Linked DNA regions of Homo sapiens: regions 1 and 2 are each linked to region 3. The links are contacts of gene promoters, found by promoter capture Hi-C in blood cells and fetal thymus (Javierre and others, 2016). All regions are on one chromosome and are shown on one strand. Each heading gives the region's core, a stretch centred on a gene start or on the middle of the fragment in contact. The rest is flanking DNA. Distances are from core to core; before and after follow the strand shown.

Region 1 (4,650 bases), core at 1,940-4,439, 1.1 Mb before region 3:
ATGGCAAAAACCATAATTGCAATTGCCTCAACTTAATATTTGTTTCAGACATCTCAAACCCAACATGTCTAAAAGAGAACTCATTATATCCCATCAACAGAGACCCCTGAATCTGTTCTGCTCCCAGGATCCTGTACCCTGTCATGGCTGTCTGTTTCCTAAGCTAAAAACACTAGCATCATCTTCAAGTCCTCCCTTTCAGAATGGTGTTGCTTGGAGGGAAGGATAAGACCCCAATGACTTGCTCAGTTGCCTGCTCCTCACTGTGTCCCAACTTAGTTCATCATCATAGATCATGTGACTCATTGACTTTTGGGATGCTTTGAATTTAAGAGCCAGAGTATGTGGGAAAAAAGTCAGAAATACCCTGGATGCAGTGTTTCATGCCTGTATTCTCAGCTACTCAGGAGGCTAAGGCAGGAAGATTATTTGAGGCTGGGAGTTCAAGACCAGCCTGGGCAATATAGTGAGACCCCCCCCCCCAATCTCTAAATGTTTTTGTTTTTTAATTTGCTGGGCAGTGGTGGTGCACACTGTAGTCCTGGCTGCTCGGGAAGCTGAGATAGGAGAATCACTTAACCCCAGGAGTTCAAGGCTGCAGTGAGATGTGACTGTGCCATAGTACTCAAGCCGGGGCAAGACAGCAAGATCCTGACTCAGACAAACAAACAAACAAACAAATGTGTGGTAAACTTGTGCCTCACATATTCATGAAATAAGCCATGTCACAGACATAATTTGTCAGATAACCACATCTGCCCACAGAACTAAAGACCATGTTACTTTTTGCCTCTGATCTCTAAATTTACATCTGTTTCTTTCAACAAATTGCCCTGTAGCCTCCCCTTTAGAGCAGGTATCTCCGTACACAGAGCAAGTATACATACAATCTCTTTAAATGTATTTATTTAAAAAAATACATGCATGTGCTTTGTTACCTGCCGAAGGAGAATGCCCATACTTTTGTAAAAATTTATTTTGACTTTGACAAATATATTTTGTTCTATACTGTGCACATTTTATAGTATCTCACTTGTAATAGGGCACTTTTTATCCTATAGCTGTCAAAATGAAAAAAAGCTTACATAACAAATGTATCCAAGAAGCCACTCAAAATATATATTATAGAACAATTTCATAAAATATTGAAAAATGAATCAACCCAGTGTAGCTTTGTTGCTTTTATATATAGAGTGAAATGACACTTCAGTGGAACTCTTGTGTGGGATAGTGCATTTATATCACCAGTCTTTTTTGGAGGCAATTCATAAATGCTTATTGCATAATATTATTATGCAACTATGCTTTCATTATGTCAACAGAGATTCTCTGTGGCAAGCACTGTGGTAACATTAAAATTACCAAGATGAGTAAGATACGTCTGCATCTTCAAGAAACTTTGGGACCTCTGCGGGAAAATGACAGACCTGCAGTTTCAGTACTGCAACACATGAAGTGAAAATGCTGGGCACTGATATCATGGGAGGCTGAGCAGGAGCAGTTAGCATGGGCAGGAAGAGAGAGGCTTTCTACAGCAAGCTGCATGAGGCAATTGAAGAATAGGCTACTTAAGTGAGGTTCATGATGGGTTTCTGCAAAAGAAAGAGTATGATGCGTATAGAGAAGCAAAAGTTACTGATCATGGGAGTTGCAGTCGTGTGGAGGGAGGGATAGAACAGGACACCACCAGAGGCGTTGTGTGGCAGGCCCAGTTTCCAACAGAGCTCCCCAGGGCTTTCCATTTTTCTGGGGGCTTGGACCTGGGAGGTAACATAACCAGATGTATTCATTGTGCTTGGAATCATGGCCATAAGGAGTGGGGAGATAGGGTTAAGCTTTAGGAAGCTCACCTCTGCTTTAGAATCAGACATGGGAGGACAGTACTATAAGCCAAGCTTCATGCTGAAAATCTCTAGGAAAGAATCACCAAGAACCATGTTCATTACGTTAGTGTGTTTGTGTGTGTGTGATGTGTGTGCATGCATGTGTGTGTGTGGTGCATATGTGCATTGGGGGGTTATTTATTTCTCCAGTCTCTGAAACAGGGACTGTCCCTCACAAGTTTCCCATCTTTCTCTTGCAGCTGTATTACTTTCCATCTTTTATGAACTTCTCACAATCCCTACTTCACATTTTTAATACATCATTCTCAAGATGCCTTGGGTTGATAAGGATGACTTTTGCAGCTATTACAGGGCTTTCTTAAATAGCAATATGTGCAGGCATGATGGAGAAGGTTGTAAGGTTGGCAGTAAGTCACAGCTATTTGTCCCTGGCTTGGTGGCTACTGTTTAAACCTTCCAACCTTGTCCAGTTACCACCATCAACCAAGCAAATCATGGAGGTGATCCCAGAGCAGGGCCCAGCATGCATGGTGGAGAACACAGTATAATGTTGATTTGACGTAATAATCTTATTATCAACACAATATCTGCAAGTGACAAAAATGGAAAATCAAATTCCTTTTTAATGTTGCAACACACATATGTAGAAACTCACTGTTGTATAAAACATTATCCATTTTTATGTCAATTTTCCCGATCACTTAAACTGTTTTAATTCTCTTTTGCTTGGTGGTAGATCCATTACCATTTCAGTTTTATGTTACGAACAGTAGAAAGATGATAAAACTGGTCTTTAGAATGTGTTATTTAGCTCTGCATTTATTTGAGAAAAAAGGTCATATGCATACATTTTCAACTTAGAAAATATTATTTATTGCATAACATTTTAAAAACATCTTGATGTTTATCAAATTCAAAAAATAGATTGTGTAAAGCTATGTTAAATTCTGTTTCTTTAATCGTAGGAATTGGTGTCACTTTCCTAATTTTCTAAGATTAACCAGGGCCTATTTTAGAAATTTGCTTTAAGATACTTGATATGTTTGGCTTTGTGTCCCCACCTAAATCTCATCTTATAGCTCACATACCTCCCACGTGTTGTGGGAGGGATCCGGTGGGAGATGATTGAATCATGGGGGCGGGTCTTTCCCATGCTGTTCTCATGATAGTGAATGGGATCTGATGGTTTTTAAAATGGGAGTTTCTACGCACAAGCTCCCTCTTTGCCTCTTGCCATCCACGTAAGATGTGACTTGCTCTTCCTTGCCTTCCACCATGGTTGTGAGGCCCCCACCCAGCCATGTGGAACTGTAAGTCCAATTAATCTCTTTCTCTTGTAAATTTCCTAGTCTCGGGTATGTCTTTATCAGCAGCATGAAAATGGACTAATACAATACTTTTTCCTTTTCAGTTCTTCAGCTGATTGGGTGTTTGGTATGCTGTACTATTTTCTCACCCACAGAGGATTTTTTAAACCATGACATAGTAGCTGGTTTGTCTGAGGACACCAGTGTTTAGATAAACAAGAAACCTAGTGGAGAAAAAAAACTGAAGCAACTTTACTTATGTGAGTGAAAGTGAAATATATTAATGTTTATGAAGAACAACTTTTTTCCTGTCAAAACCTGCCAACCACATTTACAGAAACTAAAGAAAAAAGAGAGTTACACAAAATATTGTATTTGAGCATCGATTTAATTTCCTTTTGATATTTACCTGTGTTGTAAGTGAACTATGCCAGTTGAATGCAATTGAGCAGTGCCTATGACTAATGAACTGGAATGTAAACTCCGTGCAGAATGGTCAGAACCGCTGGGTGTCGTTTCCATTTCAAATGTGATTAGTGTTCTCAGAGTTCAGCTCAGTGCCTGTGTATATGCAGTGTCCATTTGTGAGCCTGCCAAAGCGGGCCTGACAACTTCATGGAAACAGGAAACACGTTATGCATTTCACACTAAAATATGACAGGCTAAAATATTCTGATCATCAGCTGAAGAAAATCCAAAAAAACAAATACATGAAAAAATACAGATAACTGTAGACTTCTTCAGGCCATGCACAGTGGCTCACGCCTGTAATCCCAGCACTTTGGGAGGCCGAGGCTGGTGGATCACCTAAGGTCAGGAGTTCGAGACCAGCGTGGCCAACATGGTGAAACCCTGTCTCTACTAAAAATTTAAAAATTAGCCAGGTGTGGTGGCAGGAGCCTGTAATCCCAGCTGCTTGGGAGGCTAAGGCAGGAGGATCGCTTGAACAGAAGAGGCAGAAGTTGTGGTGATCTGAGATTGTGCCATTGCACTCTAGCCTGGGCGACAGAGTGAGACTCTGTCTCAAAAATAAATAAATAAAAATAAACGAATAAATAAATAAAGACACTATAGACTTCTGTGGTTTGTCACACACAAAAACTTTGCAAATGACTTCACAGGATGATTTTAAATAGGATATCCGTTGAATAGACATTTTAATTTATAAATATTTATTTTACATATTCTTAAAACTCTCTAATTTTACACAAAATTATTGTGTAGGTCTTTAACCTTCTTTATTCAACAAATACTTATTGAGTATAAACCATGGGCTTGGCTCTGTTCCAGGTATTGGAAAACAGGCACAGTTTCTGTTCTGTTGAAGCTTATCTAGTAGTCAGAAGAAAGAGACATGCAACAAATAAACACAATCTTAAGTAGATAGAAGGTTCTACAGAAAATGAGGCAAGGTAAGGAGATTGGGAATGAGAGGTGTGCCACTTTACATGAGGTGGTCAGGGAAAGCCATAGAAGTGAGTTTGTGGCTCAGTTTGCTC
Region 2 (4,574 bases), core at 1,466-3,965, 1.8 Mb after region 3:
TTATAAATTATTTTTACATGATTAAATAATTTTGGCAGAGTAAGTCCGCAGGACTTAAATAACCAGTCAGCCTTAGTATCTACATCTGGACCAGGAAGCCTTTGTGTTACAGACACAGATTCCCTGTGAAGTTCTCCAGGGTGTAAAGAAGGCCCCAGGGAGGTGCCGACGGGATGTGAGGGCTGCCTTTCAGCTCAGGCGAGCCTGCAAGCAACAGGGCAGTTTGGGAAGGGTCACAGGCACAGGAAGGGAGCAGTGGGCAACCATTGATTACATCAAACCAGGATGGTTTCTTCTTTTTAAAGAAACTTTTGTTGAGTGTTTACCCACCCCCATCCACACAAATATGCTCTCTAGGAAATGTGAAAGTATAAGCTTCAGAAAAATGTTTTTCTCATCCTTTAATTTCTGGTTTTATGATCAAATGTTCCGAAGACACTGCTTCTTTTTGCTCAAAATAGTTGACATTGTCATTGCTTCTAGTTTTTCAGCTCCTACTATGCTTACTATGTCCATGGGTGCCATTGACGTCTTTGGCTATTTATCATCTCTAGAAAAGAAAAAAAAACATTAAAATTTTAGGATGTAGGATTCACAATAAATCTCTTACCAAATCCTCCTTAAATCCCTAAACTCTCTACCTGGCTCTGACTCCAGGATCACCCTTTCAGTTCTTTCCATGTTTTTCTTCGGAAAATGTAGTTTCCTAACCTTTCTACCCACCCTTCTCGTCTACTCTTAGGTCTGCAGCCACAGTGATAGTTCTAAGTTGCAAACCTGATCATGTCCTTCCAGTACTTAGTCTTTCAAAAATCTTCCTACTTCCCGCAGAGTGAAGCCTGAACTCTTTAATAGGCATCTAAGGACTTGGACCCGGATCCTGTTAACCTGTTAATTCATCTTTGCCTCTAACTCCCTCCCTTCATCTTTCAAGGCACAGCGCAGGACTTAACTCATTGTGAAAGTACTAAGCCTTGATGTATCTTTAGGAAAAACACACGTATACACACACACGCATGCAAAGAGAGGAAGCATAGCTTAGTGGTTAACCTACATAGACTGCAACTTGCTTAAATAATCCAGTATTTATCTATGTTTTAATAAAATTGTTTTAATAAAAATATATGAAATTCATCTATCTTTTCTCTGGAATGCTTTTGCCTGTTCAAAGATTATACAATGCTCCCGTATGTTACAGAGGAAGCCGTCCCTTCATTTATAAAAGACAGTTAACACATAGCACAAAAACTCTAGAGTAGGATGGATCCGCAACTACTGTACTGGAAATATGCTAAATTAGGGTTCTGATTAGAGTTAATGGAATTAACTTGGGTGAGAGAAAATACTCACCATTAATCTAGGGGTAACAGAGGAGTTAAACTCCAATTCAGAAACAGAGCAGTTCAAAATCAGAATCTAGAGTCAGCCTACATGGGCTTGATCTGGGAATGTGCCCTTTATTAGACGTGTAACCTTGGGCTGCTGCTTGACTGAATAGGTCTTCGATTCCTCATGGAATGAATATAATAAGATCTGATGAATGCAATTAGACAGTGCCTGAAACAGTAGTCTTAAGTAGGTATTTTTGTTGTCCCACTTTTTGAGAAACAAAACCAAAGTCAATTCAATTAAAACTGCAGGTTTCTTGATTTCATCCTAATACTTTGCAAATTAATCACAGAACCCAAGTGAAATTGCCTAGACTCTCAAAGAGTTCGAAAAACATTTCTAATACACTCAAAATTTTCCTAGTTGACGTTCACAGATTATCAAGAGTAAAGCACCTTCATACAGTTTTGATCCTCACACTGTCTAAATCTGAGGAGCTGTCAGGAAAGACATGTAAGGAGAGATCTAAGCTAAAACTCAAACCACACATGAGGCTTTTCAACTGTGACCAACTTGTAGTTAAAATTCAGTTTATGCTTTTCTGTCCACCTAAGAGCAAATTAAACCTTTAAGAAAGCAAAGGATAAAATCATTGTTAGCTCAAGCATTAAAAAAGAAAATAACTGAATATATCTTCTTCAACTCTCCACCCCTAGGGATGAGAACTGCACCTGGCAAACAAGAGGACATTCAACACGTAGTAGCTGTTAAAATGAGTAACTCCCCAAAAGCACTATTAGAAGGCGATATAGTTATTATGACCAAGTTCTGCGGAAACATGGTGTTGAAAACCTTACTGAAGCTAACAATGTGCGTCACCTTCCAGGAGCCACACACACATCCTGAGGGCTTCCCAGATCAACCCCTCATCCCCGCGACAGAGCCACAATCCAGCACCACCTTCCCAGGACTCTCAGCTGAGGCCCCAGCCCCCGCAGGCCCAGGGACGACGCGGCGGGCAGGGCACATGCCTGCGTCGGGCCAGGTGGAAGCTCGGAACGACCACAGGCCCCCGGGGCGCGCCCCTCCCCGTCACGCGCCCCGTTTCCCACGTCCACGCATGCGGTTTCCCCAGGCCTGGAAAGCGTCTAGAGCCAAAGAGCCCAGGGGCTTGCCCGCGCAGAGGCCGACGTGGGGCCCAGGGACGCGCTCCCGGGGTCCTCCCCGCCGAGCCCGCAGCCAGCACCCGGAGCGATCCCCCGAGCCCGAGGGGCGTGGGAACCACGCGCGCAAGCCGGCTGCCCTTCCAGTCCCGGGACGCTTCCCCATCAGGCCAGTGCTAGGCGGGCGGTCGGGACCCGGGGATCGCAGCCTCCGGAGCGCTCACCTGGGTGGCGCAGGCCAAGGACGCCCATGGACAGCGCGACCTCCTCCCATTCCACACACGCGCCCACGACCAAAGTGCGCATGCTCGACACCTGGGACCAATAGGAATCTCGGTCCGAGGGTAGCTGGGGCCAATCACAGCGCGTCTGGCGTGTGGGCGGTGTCTCCTCGTGTTACGCGTGCGCGGAGGGGCTGCGCTACCCGGTCTTGGGTTTTTCATCGGGGAGTGGGAGTGGACTGAAGGCTTGGCCGCTCCGCCTCACTGAGCCGGCTCAGCCAGCGCAGCTGTTCCTGGAACGCCAGTCCCTTAGGATGGGAGGTACTTTCATCTCGAAGAGGGCCGTGGCGTCTGGAGCTTCCCTCCCTTCTGTCCTGCTGAGTCATCCCCGCGTCGCCTGCGAGGCCGCGAGGCGTTTAGGTCTGGGCAGGCCGCCTTTTCCCCATCACGAGATCCTGTTATTTTACTGTTTCATTCTTTTTCTCACTTTCCTATTTGTTAAGCCAAACTTTTTCCTTCCATAGACGTGACCCCTTAGAAGGCTACCCATGCCTCGACATATCTGACATTTGACGTTTTACTCAAATAATTTGCCAAAGTCTATTGCCTTTTTTAACTTCTATTTTCTAAAGCTAGTTTGATACTAATCAACACAGTTTTTTCAACAAGCATGTAAGTGTGCATATTCTAGACATGCGCGGCCTGAGTTTAACCCATCTGCTACTAATTTGTGTTGTCTCGGAATATTATCTAATCCCGTGCTTCAGTTCTCATATATAAACTGAAACTTTATAGATTCACTGGTGGCCTGTAAGCCTGGCCTGTAAGCCTTAAGTTGAAACATGGAGCATATCAGAACTGTGCCTGGCACGTGGTGAAATGTTCAAAAGTTAGTATTGTTATTAGGTGCTGGGCACTTTTCTAGGCTTTGGGATATAGAGATCAATGTCCCTGATGTCCTGGTGTTTATAATTTATTGTGGACACTTTGCTATTTTTTTGGATACAGATCTTTATTTTCATAAACATGGATAATTTTCATTGAGTGCAGTGTGATCTCAATTGATACTTTTGTAGTATTTCATCATTATGCTTATATTCTTTTTAAAATTTAGGTACTGTTGAGGGAAAGTGAGAATGACATGATTTTGATAACATGGTAGAACCTTTTTCATTCATCTGGTGTTGCCACACTGGGGCTCTGGGTGCTTTATGAATCATGTTCACAAGTCATACTTGTGTCTGTCCATGGTTCTTTTCACTACAGCCACCATAGTTCAGGGTGAGATTTTTCACACCGACTGTAAAGATTTATCTGTGGAAAATGGTAATGAGCTTGCCTGGTTGATGTCCTGTTGTTTTCCCAAGTACATACTTGGAAGAGAGTGAACAGAAGACTAAAACGTGGGTCAACAGATGTTTTGCAGTGAGCTAAAAAATAATTGACTTCACTAGAACAACTGCTTGATATTCTACAGCAGTTTTGCAGGTTTCTGAAGTGGAAGAAGCAGATAGTGATGGAATGCTGCTAAAAGAAATATAAGAGAATAATAACACCCTTGGTGCTTGTTAATTTCATTTTGAATTTTTTTTTTTTAAGTTGTCAGTTACATGTTTGGTGACTGCTTTGAAAGTTCTGATTCTGTTGCATGTGGATCCACAAGGTAGCTTAGGAAGCCTGATGGCAGAATACAAATTGTCTTAAAAGAGTTCATAGGTATTCACAATCTTTGTATTGAAGAAAGTATGATGAAACTCCCCAGGTCCAGTTAGGGCAGCACTGGGAATGCAAGGTGAGAAATTGGAAGAATTTACCACACACAAAAAAATGATGTGTCTGTATTAGTCCATTCTTGTATTGC
Region 3 (4,291 bases), core at 1,452-3,951:
GGCTGGAGTGCAGTGGCGTGATCTCGGCTCACCGCAACCTCTGCCTCCCAGGTTCCAGCGATTCTCCTGCCTCAGCCTCCCAAAGTTCTGGGATTACAGGCGTGAGCCACCGCGCCCAGTCAATGCCTGCATTTTTAAGGTGAAATATTATACAGTTAAGTGTTAAACAAGTGAAGAATCTCAACAAAATACATATTACCTTTAAGGCTCTAAATGACCAGAGAGAAAGAACTGTGACCATTACCATTAAAACGTTCACGTCCTGGCCTATACATTTCTTTTACCGTTGCCTTCAATTTCCATATATTTTGGTTCTTCAAGTTAGCTGGACGTTCTATGAGGTCAGGGAGCAAGTGTATATCCCTAAACTGCTGAGCCTCAACACTCACAGGATGCCTACCAACAGCATCCAACTCTTTTAAGAGACTTAAACACCCAGGTTACTGTCCAAATGAGCTCCCACAGCAAAGAATGATCCGACCTCGAATGTCAATATGCCAAACTTGAGAATGCTGCTCTAGACCACTGGCTTTGACTCTGACAGCGGTGGCCCTGACCATGGTAATGCTCTTTAGTAGCAACTGCTCTTCAGAACAATTTCTCAACTGCTCTGGGCCCAAGTCCCCAGTTTTGTAAAATAACCCTGTCTCAGAGTGTGCGACTTCTGGGCACAAATGCATGCAGTTTGAACAAAATGGCTGATGCAAAACAACCTAGTTTTAGTTATGTTGTTACACCAGGTGTGTGTATTGGATGTTATTTTCTCTGCAGGTCCCTGTTAAGTGGAAAATAAAATGGAATACATAATACAATTAGCTTGAAACTTTTTCTTTCTAGAAAGGAAACAAATACTGAGTGCCTACCGTGGATCAACCACTGTGCAGCCCCTCTAAGTCACTCCATTTAATATCACTGTCAAGTCTTCAGCTTGACGGAGGCCTATCACCTCCCCCTGGAAAAGGAGGTTCCGCGAGGTTGTGTAACTAGCACTAAGTCAAACAAAGAGTCCATAGGGGAACTGTATTGTTTCTAACTTTGCGTAAGTAAACCTCCAAGACACTAAGTGAACAGGGACACCTGAGAGACCTAGTGGAATGGTCTATTATGAATTCACTTTATAACAAACCCTGAAGGCCCTCTCGGAGTGTCCCTTCCTCTGCATTTTCTGTCAACGTCTGGTGCTCAGATGTTTCTTACCTGCACCCCTGCCCTGGTTTCTTTAACCCCTCTGGTCTTCCTTATTCCCTTCGGTCTATCTCAAGCTTTGCTGCCTGAAGTGCAGCTCTACTGAAATTCTGCTCAAAACCCCCTCAATGGCTCCCCTTCTTCCCCAAAGATAACGTCGTATTTTCCATGTTGGGCATTCAATAGCTTCCACCTTCGGGAACTATTGTAAGTTAAAGAAGTCAGTGCTCCATTAAAACCGGATGGCTCTTCCATTCTACAACGTGCCATGCGCATTCTTGCCCAAGCCTTTACTTCTACCGTTTCCTCTCCCTAGAATGCTACCTCTCACCCCGATCTAAAGCTGTCCTCCAGCACCACGCTTATGTGCACCCTCTCCGTAGCTGTCCTTCTCACTGCACACCACCTTGTATTACGGTTATGTGCGTCCGTTTTTCACTCTTCGCTATTTTTCCTCAAGGGTGGGCAAAAAAGCACTCAGAAATGAAATACCCTGTTAAGTGACCACACCTTTACGAGTGACAAAGAAAACGGAAGGGCCGTTGCGGGTGGACCAGCGAAAGGTTAAGCAGCAGCGCCTTAACCGACAGGTGACAGAGCATCTCCCCGGCGCCCTCCCACTGGAGCGCAGTCCCACGCGGCCGTCAGGCTGGAGGAGCCGGGCGGGGAGGCGGTCCCGCTTTGCTCCCGCGGGCGACCGGACTGAGCGGCCCCACCCAGCTCCGAAGGGCGCTGGCGGCCCAGCCTGGCTGGCCCCCACATTCCGAGCCCAGGATTAGGCGCCGGCGTCTCCCGAGCTCAGTAAGCGGGCTGAGCGGCCGGAGACCGCAGGGAGACGGAGATTCTCGACCTTTCCGGGGAGCACATGGCAGAGCCGCTCCTCAACTCGCGCAGGCGCAGAGCCACGGCCTCGGCCACCTCCCCTTAGCCCACCGCGAGCAGGTCCCTGTGCCATTACCTTGAGGGCCTCAAGTCCCATAAGACGGGACTTGCGGTCCTGATCCTTGATGATGAGGAAAGGGCGCCCATATTCATCGAAGGCGAGGGTCCCCATGGACGCCATGGTGCAACAACCGGAATTACTTCCCCCCAACCGGCGGAGACCGCTACGGAAGCGAGAATGCACTTCCCTTTCTCGGGAGGGCCCAAAAGCTTGCGCACGCGCAGCACAAGACGCGCGGGACTTATGTTTCTACTGAGACTAATTTCACGCCAGACAGTATCTTCTGGAATCGGCGGCCTTCGGGAACTTCTATTATCCAGGAAGCCGGGGAGGGGGAGGTTTGAAGACACTTAGTGGAAATCTTAGGACACACAAGTCAAGAGCAGATTGAATTTGTCATTTTTTAAAACGTTACCACTGATAGTTTCTCGATAGTGGGTCCCAAGGAGGAATTCATTGACTTAAAGCACTATTTCTTTATTTCTTCGCACTCCGGCTCCGAGAAGATGGTAGGACCCATTTCCGGTTTTTTTTTTTTTTTTTTTTTTTTTTTTTTTTTTTTTAAAAACGCTGTTGGAAATCTCGCGATGGAGGGAGGAGGAGGTGAGGCTGGAGCGGCTTGGCGGGTTCCTGGGGGCATGAGAAGGGGTGCGGGCGGGCCGGGGGCTCGCGGTCAGCTGAGGTCTCCACTGTCGAGGCGGTGACCGGGTGCGGGCGGCTGCTCTGGCCTCCAGCCTGGCCTTCGGTGACCAGAGCTCCTGGTCGCCGCGCGGTGCCCGCGCCGGTTCTGGCGATCCTTGTCGGCGGGCGCGTTTCCCCAGAGACTGTTCTAGGCTACTTAGTGCAAGTGACTCAGCCTTTGGCACGATCTTAAGGAATAGGGATAGTGGAGGCACACTGATGGATTGGAATCGCAGTTCTGCCGCTCTTCCTAGCTGTGGCTTTGAGGAAATCCCTTAACTTCTTTGTCCCTCGGGTTCCCTGTCTGCAAAGTGACGGTGGTAACAGTAGTGCCTACTCACAGGGCTGCTGTGAGATTCAAGGAGAACGGTGCCTGGCAAGCTGAACACAGTGTTGGTAAATAAATTAACATTTTGCACAAATGGTTCAGTAACTTGCCACTGGTATACAGCTAGTAAGAAACAGTTACACAGCCTGATGCAATGGGTCCCACACTCTTTTTTTTTTTTTTTTTTTTTGAGACAAGACTGTAGCCCGGGCTGGAGTGCAGTGGCGCGGTCTCGGCTCACTGCAGCCTCCGCCTCCCGGGTTCCAGTGATTCTCGTGCCTCAGCCTCCCAGGCAGCTGGGACTACAGGCACAGAACCACCACGCTCGCTAATTTTTGTATTTTTAGTAGAGACGGTGTTAACGCCGTAGTGGCCAGGCTGGTCTCGAACGGCTGACCTCAAGTGATGTACCCGTCTAGGTCTCCCCAAGTGTTGGGCCTGAGCCACCGCGGTGCCCGGCAGGTCTCACTCTTAAGCCCTGTATTATGCTGCCTCAGAAAGATCTTGGCAACCGCAGCTGTCCTCTAAATCTCTTATGCTGCCTTCCTCCCCGCCCTCCAAGATCATGACTTAATATTTGATAGGTTTAGATTTATTTGTTGAGGGTTTCCATCCTTGCTTCTCCCCTACTGCCATGGGCAGGGACTTAACTAATAAAGTTGTATTATTCCCAGACTTTATTAGGCACTCAATAAGTGCTGAAATGAATACATGCACTATAACATTTGACCCTGTCCTGAAACTCAAGAACAGACTTGGCGACTGTGTTCCCATCTACTCTGGGGCTGAGGCAGGAGGATGGGTGGAGCCCAGGAGTTCAGTTTACAGTGCGCTATAATCGCGCCACTGCACTCCATCCTGGGCGACAGAGCGAGATTCTGTCTCTAAAAACAGGGAGGACTGACTGTCATGGGATGGTTGGTGATCTGTTAACTCTTCATGCTTGGCATACTTACGCGCTAGACCTTGAAGTGTTCTTCAAGGACATTTTAGATTTTGGAGTCAGGTCTTATTTCACGTTAGCTTTGCCAATTCAGTGTTTCCTCATTAAAAATGGTGACTTCTGCAATTCATTTGGCTCCTTCGATTGTTGTGAAAAATAGAATGTCCTATGGCATCCTCTGTGTAGTTGATTCCCTGTCAAAACACTGGGG

Evidence for each region. The method cuts DNA at HindIII sites, captures the fragments that hold promoters and counts their contacts. A CHiCAGO score of 5 or more calls a contact.
Region 1: a fragment that was not itself captured here is called in contact with the fragment with the promoter of ATPSCKMT in region 3 in 2 of 17 cell types (monocytes and M2 macrophages); the score reaches 6.6 in monocytes.
Region 2: a contact is called between a fragment that was not itself captured here and the fragment with the promoter of ATPSCKMT in region 3, in 1 of 17 cell types (naive CD4 T cells). The highest score is 5.0, in naive CD4 T cells.

Annotation. Positions count from the first base shown.
Region 1 is chr5:11,319,065-11,323,714 of GRCh38, reverse strand. All of the region lies in intron 9 of CTNND2 (catenin delta 2), which reads left to right. Among named protein-coding and RNA genes, the nearest start is that of CTD-2154B17.1, 530 kb to the right of the region's middle. The HindIII fragment of the contact is 2,583 bases long and covers 1,898-4,480 here.
Region 2 is chr5:8,455,909-8,460,482 of GRCh38, reverse strand. It overlaps LINC02226 (long intergenic non-protein coding RNA 2226), which reads left to right and starts at 2,919. Exons shown (of 6, transcript NR_039984.1): 1 at 2,919-3,034. MIR4458HG (MIR4458 host gene) reads right to left here and starts at 2,796. Exons shown (of 2, transcript NR_039989.1): 1 at 2,717-2,796; 2 at 1-550. It also overlaps the pseudogene LOC100419318. RefSeq lists silencers at 2,467-2,526, 2,537-2,586 and an enhancer at 3,107-3,206. The HindIII fragment of the contact is 4,676 bases long and covers 378-4,574 here.
Region 3 is chr5:10,248,298-10,252,588 of GRCh38, reverse strand. ATPSCKMT (ATP synthase c subunit lysine N-methyltransferase) reads left to right here and starts at 2,701. Exons shown (of 5, transcript NM_199133.4): 1 at 2,701-2,731. The coding sequence starts at 2,716. It overlaps CCT5 (chaperonin containing TCP1 subunit 5), which reads right to left and starts at 2,309. Exons shown (of 11, transcript NM_012073.5): 1 at 2,144-2,309. The coding sequence starts at 2,248. RefSeq lists silencers at 1,159-1,381, 1,712-1,851, 1,922-1,991, 2,742-2,801, 2,812-2,931. The HindIII fragment of the contact is 6,282 bases long and covers 2,340-4,291 here.